Linked DNA regions of Homo sapiens: region 2 is linked to region 1. Evidence: promoter capture Hi-C in human tissues and cell types (Jung and others, 2019). All regions are on one chromosome and are shown on one strand. The core of a region is centred on a gene start or on the middle of the fragment in contact, and the rest is flanking DNA. Distances in the headings are between cores, read along the strand shown.

The links. Contacts are between HindIII fragments. The study calls those that stand out against the background at their distance.
Region 2: a fragment that was not itself captured here is called in contact with the fragment with the promoter of ACVR1 in region 1 in 2 of the 25 tissues and cell types used here (dorsolateral prefrontal cortex and neural progenitor cells).

Annotation. Positions count from the first base shown.
Region 1 is chr2:157,875,004-157,877,872 of GRCh38, reverse strand. It overlaps ACVR1 (activin A receptor type 1), which reads left to right and starts at 1,543. Exons shown (of 11, transcript NM_001111067.4): 1 at 1,543-2,077. LOC105373714 (a long non-coding RNA gene) reads right to left here and starts at 1,289. Exons shown (of 2, transcript XR_923518.3): 1 at 1,157-1,289. RefSeq lists silencers at 982-1,171, 1,192-1,431, 1,492-1,711, 1,722-1,771, 1,862-2,071 and an enhancer at 1,302-1,596. The HindIII fragment of the contact is 2,058 bases long and covers 362-2,419 here.
Region 2 is chr2:157,991,912-157,994,673 of GRCh38, reverse strand. No RefSeq gene overlaps it. Among named protein-coding and RNA genes, the nearest start is that of UPP2, 110 kb to the left of the region's middle. The HindIII fragment of the contact is 8,976 bases long and covers 1-2,762 here.

The sequences.
Region 1 (2,869 bases), core at 294-2,793:
GCAGCTTACAGCCTGGGAGGGAACTCTAAAGGTTACCAAGAAGGGCCAGTTTGTACAATGAGGACTCCATGAATGTACATCATTGAGCTTCACAAGCTTTCACGTTTGTAATCTCATTTGAACTGCACAACCACCTCACGAGACAACCTGTATTCCCTTCTTAGGTTAAAAATGTGCCCCAGTTCAAAACAGTTTGTAAGTGGCAGAGCTGACACTTCAGCCAAGTGACAATGAGGGCCCTGTTACATCATTCTATAGAGCAGGGATACATATAGGTGCTCTTGCCTTGATTGGTACTGAACTTGCCTCTCCTGCTCCTCACCAATCATACAGGTACAAAGCTCTCTTTATGAAAAAAATGCTCCCACCTACTCCATCCTTTTGCTTACAGCTGGGGATTCTAGTTTTTTCACGTATATATGCCTTGTATTTCTAATTAGATTGTAAACTCCCAACCTGCAGGGACCAGATCTTCCATTTCCTTTGCAACCTTTTGCAGTACTGCAGTCACCCAATAAATGCCCTCTGCATGAATGAACCTGTAGAGATAAAAATACTTTATGGCATTCCCATTTATAGGTTTCATGTTTTTATTCTGCTTTGTGATAGGACTGTACATTATAAGCTTCTAGAGGGCAGAGAAAATGGCTTAGTGCTTTCCTTTACACTCAGCAGGAACCATGCAAAATTTGATCCTTGCATGCCTTTTTGATGCTCTGGGTAATATTAGCACACTGGGGTGTTTTTGTGTATCTAAGGACCGAGGTTATCAGACTCTCTGCAGCGGAGAATGTTCCTGCATTTCCACTGTAAGCTCCCATGGCGCCTAGGACAGGGCTAGATCACTGCAGAAGCCCCTCCATGCTTATTTCTGTTACTAAGGAAGCCAAAGGCGAACATGGCAAGCTCTGTCATAACCCTAGACCTTGCAAGGAAATGAGCAAAGTGGAAGGGGATCTGAAGGCAGGTCAGAGATGGCCTGGATGAGAATGCTAAGGCTTCTCTCTGAGAATCCAGCCCAAGTCTGACATGCAGGGCTCGAGTAGGTGGCCGCCCGCAGTCGCCGGGCCCGGGATGCCCGCCCGTCCGCCCGCCTGCCCCGCGCGCCCTCGGGAGCTGTCCAGACGGCCCCGCCCGCGCCTACCTGGGCACTCACCCGTGCCGCGCGGCCTCTTCTCCTCCCACCCCGGCCACAGGAGCCCAGCTCGGGCCTGCCCCGCCGCCTCCGAGGAGCCCCGCTGGCGGCGCGCTCATAGCTTCCACCCGGGCCAAGCGACCGGCCAGACAGCGCCAGGCGCGCCGGGGGCGGCGCGGTCAGGCTCGGCGGGGCTCGGCGGGCTCGCCCTCGGCCGGGCGCCTGCAGGGGGCGCGGGGACGGCCCCGCCCCGCCGCCTCCTCTCTCCCCTCCCGGCTCCCTGGATCCGCGCCGGGAGGAAATGATGTGTTGCTGCCTGGTTAATCACAGCTCCAGACACTCATTGGCCGAGCGCTCCGCAGCCACTTCCTCCTCCTCCTCCTCCCGCTCCTCCCGCTCCGGCTCCTGCTCTTTGCAGCCGCCGCCGCCGCCGCAGCCTCCCCCTCGGCGCAGGGGGAACTTTTCTACTCTCTGTGACGGTCTCCCCCGCCGCCCCCGGGGGCAAGCCCAGCTGGTCCGCCCGCCCCGCCCGCGGTCGTGCTCCCAGCCCGAGCCTCTGCGCCTCGGGAAGTTTATTCTGCCCGCCCTCCTCCCCTTCCTCCTCCTCTTCACCCCGCCTCCCCGCCCTCCCCCGGCTCTTTCCCCCGGGTGGCTGCCGCTGCCGCCGCTGCCGCTGCCAGCCTGCTCCTCGGCCAGCCGCGCCGGCCCCAGGGCCGGGAAGCTCCCGGCCCCACGCACCGCTCCGCTGCAGCCACCGCAGCCGCCGCCGCTCTGGGCCGGCCCTCGGCCCCCGGCTCCCGGCCCCGCAGAGTTCCGGGCTCCCTCGCCGGCTGCACCGCCCCGCCCCGCCCCGCGCCGCCCCGCGCCGCGCCGACCTGCAGCGCCCGGCTGCCTCGCACTCCGCCTCCCCCGGCTCAGCCCCCGGCCGCGGCGGGACCCGAGGTGAGCGCAGGTCGCCGGCCGCGCCTGCTGGAGCCGGGAGGACTGAGGGAGGAGGTAGCCTAGCGGGAGAAGAGGCAGGGATCGGGGGTGGCAGGGTGGGCGTCTGCGGTGCCTCCCCCTCGCTTTCATTCCTTTCTCCCCCAAGCTTGATCCCCTCTCCGTGGGGGAAGCAGCCGCGGAACAAAACTGTCTTGCTTTGGGCCTGAACTGCTGGTGGGATATGGGGGGTGGGGGGGCAGAGGCGTGGAGCGGGGGTCTCAGGTTTGTATTGGGGTGTGTGTGAGTGCGTGTGTGTGTGTGTGTGTGTTGTGAACTCCTTCAGGGTGTGCGACTCTGACTTGTAAATCGATCTGGCCGCGGGGCCACGGGGCTTACCTTCCTAGCTGAGCTTGTAGAGAGTAAGGAGATAGATAGGCGAATTTCCCCCACCCTCAAAATATCCATCTCTTCCAAGAGGAATTTTCTGCTGGAGAGACAGCCAATAAACTCTGCTCAACTCCCTCCCTCCCTCGGTTCTTCCTAGCTGCAGTTTCAAAAAGCTTCAAAGCCAGGAATGTGGGATTCATCTTCCGATCCCCAGAAGGCAAATGTGGTTACAGATGTTGCACGGTACTTTGCCAAGTTTAAAACCCTTCCTTCAACACTGTAACCAAAACAGTGAGGCTAGAACCTCGGGCGCACTAAGAAGAGATGTGGGCCTCTGGGGCCGCTGGATTCAGTAACTTCCGTCGGGTTCTAGACTGGCTCGGCTCTGTCCAGTTTGTGCCAGATAGTCTCCCACCCCCTCCCCAC
Region 2 (2,762 bases), core at 177-2,676, 120 kb before region 1:
AGTTATGCAATCTTAAAATGGGAGTGATGTGAGTGTGGCATTATTCTCAAGATTGCTGTGAGGATTAAAAGAGAGAGCATTCTATTAGGTGCATACCATAGTGCCTGGCTCAGGGAGACTGTTCATCTTCTCTATGTTGTATACTGCAGTTAGAGTTTGATATAGTTTGAATATTTGTCCCCTCCAAATCTCATACTGAAATTTGATCCCCAATGTTGGAGGTGGGGCCTAGAGAGAGGTGTTGGGGTCATGAGGATGAATCCCTCACAAATGGCTTGGTGCCATTCTTGCGGGATTGAGTGAGTTCTCACTCTTAGTTCCTGTTAGATCTGTTAAAGAGTCTGACACCTCCCTCCCCACCCCTCTTCCTCTCTCTCTCATTCTCTCTCTCTGTTCTTTCCCTTTACCATGTGATGCCTGCTCTCCTCTGCCTTCCACCATGAGTGGAAGCTCCATGAAGCCCTCACCAGAAGCAGACGCTGGTGTCATGGTCATACAGCCTGCAGAGCCATGAGCCAGATAAACCTCTTACTTTTACAAATTACCCAGACTCAGGTATTCTTTTATAGCAACATGAAACAGTCTAAGAAAGAGTTCATATTCTAAAGTGCAAACTTGAAAGTTTGATATGGTTTGGCTCTGTGTCCCCATCCAAATCTCATGTTGAATTGTGACCCTATGTGTTGGAGGTAGGGCCTGGTGGGAGGTGATTGGATCATAGGGGTGGTTTCTGATGGTTTGGCACCATCCCCCTAGTACTGTCTCATGATAGAGTTCTCAAAAGATCTGGTTGTTTGAAAGTGTGTAGCACTTCCCCCTTTGCTCTCTCTCCATCTCCTGCTCCGCCATGATGAATATATGCTTGGTTCTGCTTCATCTTCCGCCATAATTTTAAGTTTCCTGAGGCCCCGCAGCCATGCTGCCTATACAGCCTGCAGAACTATGAGTATATTAAATCTCTTTTCTTCATAAATTAGCCAGTCTCAGGTAGTTCTTTATAACAGTGTAAGAACAGACTTAATAGAGGGTTTCTCCCTGATTTAAGATTATTTTTGGTTATCCATTATCTACGAAACAAAATGAAAATGCACATTATGACATATAAGGACCTTAACTATTCAGGTTTTATCAATCTCTCTAAAACTTGCCACCTACCACTCTCACATATGTTCAAAGTATAATTTGTATTTATTTTCACTTTTCCTTAAGAACCAGTAAATATAATAGGCATAGATGACAAATAATAAATTAGCATGTGCCAGGCACTGTGCTAATCATTCTGTGGGAGGGAATACTCATTCTCCACTCCTGCTGTTTCCTCCCATGAGAGAGAGCTGCATGAGCTGTAACATTCCTGGATACTTCCACCTCCTCATTTATCCTCCCCTGGCAAGGATAAGTTGAGAGAATCTGGGTATTTGTATTCCAGCCTCTTTCTCTTTTGGTAGCAACTCTCACAGGGAGCATGATTTTAGGCAAGCTGTAAGCATAGTGGCAAAGACCTTTTCCCGGTGGAACGACCCATTGTCCAGGACTACCTGATACCAGTTGGTGAGCCTGTCTATTTCTGGTATTCAGCGTCAGGAAGCCTAAGTTCTCCAGTGTCAGCTTTATCAATGATAATGGTCTCCTGCCTGCGTTACTCTTGTCTGTTTCTAAATTGGTTCAGAACTTGGGTGGGGAAAATGGGTATTATTTACTGAGGATACGTAAGTATCCCAACAAAGTCTACATTCATTGTCTCCTTTATACCTCAGAGCTACCATATGAGGTAAGCATATCTATCATCCAATTTTTATAGATAAGGAAAGTAAGGATTAGCAATCAAGTAAGTGGCATAATCAAGATCTAAACAGTTCTATCTGATGCCACAGATTATGCCCTTACATTTTCCCATTTTGTTTTTGCATGAAGGTTTAATAATAAACTGATAAGAACATTCAAAATTTGAGTTCATGTTGAAAAAAAAAAAGCTAACACAGTATTATATGCAGTGTACTTATATTCTATCTGGCAGAAAAGTTAGCCAAGCTAAACTTAAATTCAGCACATGCTGAATTTTATTTTAGGGAGAACAAGCTGCAATCATAATAAAGAACTGTATTTACAGCTAACAGCAATACCCACGTTTCTCTATAGGTCTTACACTACAATCTGAAATTGCATTTCATGATTTACAAGGTCTGAGACATAAACAGTAAAAGGTATGTTTCTGGGAATTTTCTCATTAACAGCCACAAAACAAGCAATTTTATGTGGAATTGCTTTGTTCACCTTTTCTGAAATATGTGCAAGATCTCTCTTTGATGTTGAATCCATTCTGATTTGAACATCTCAATATTTTTGATGTTCCATGAACTCCTCCACACCCCACCTATCTCCGGGAAGCTCAGACCTCCCTACCTACTTGGTGAAAAGAAGGAAATTTAGAACATTTGAGCTCGCAGGCTGCCTACTTAAGACTACCCGAAGAATGAGCTCTGCTTACCCCTGTTCCTTCGTAGGTACATGAATGAGTCGTCAAAAATTCACTAATAGTTGATTAATGCAGTTGTGACAGTATGAAAAACAACAAAAGGAGTGCAGTGCTGAAGAAATTCTAGATCTTGCAGATTTAATGCATCCACTTATATCCATAACTCAATCCCTTTTCATATGACACTAGTTATTGTTGTTACTGTCTTCCATAACCATTCCTACCACGACTCCAGTCCAGGCCATACCCCCTTCTTCTTGTCACAAGAACATCAACACTCTGCAGT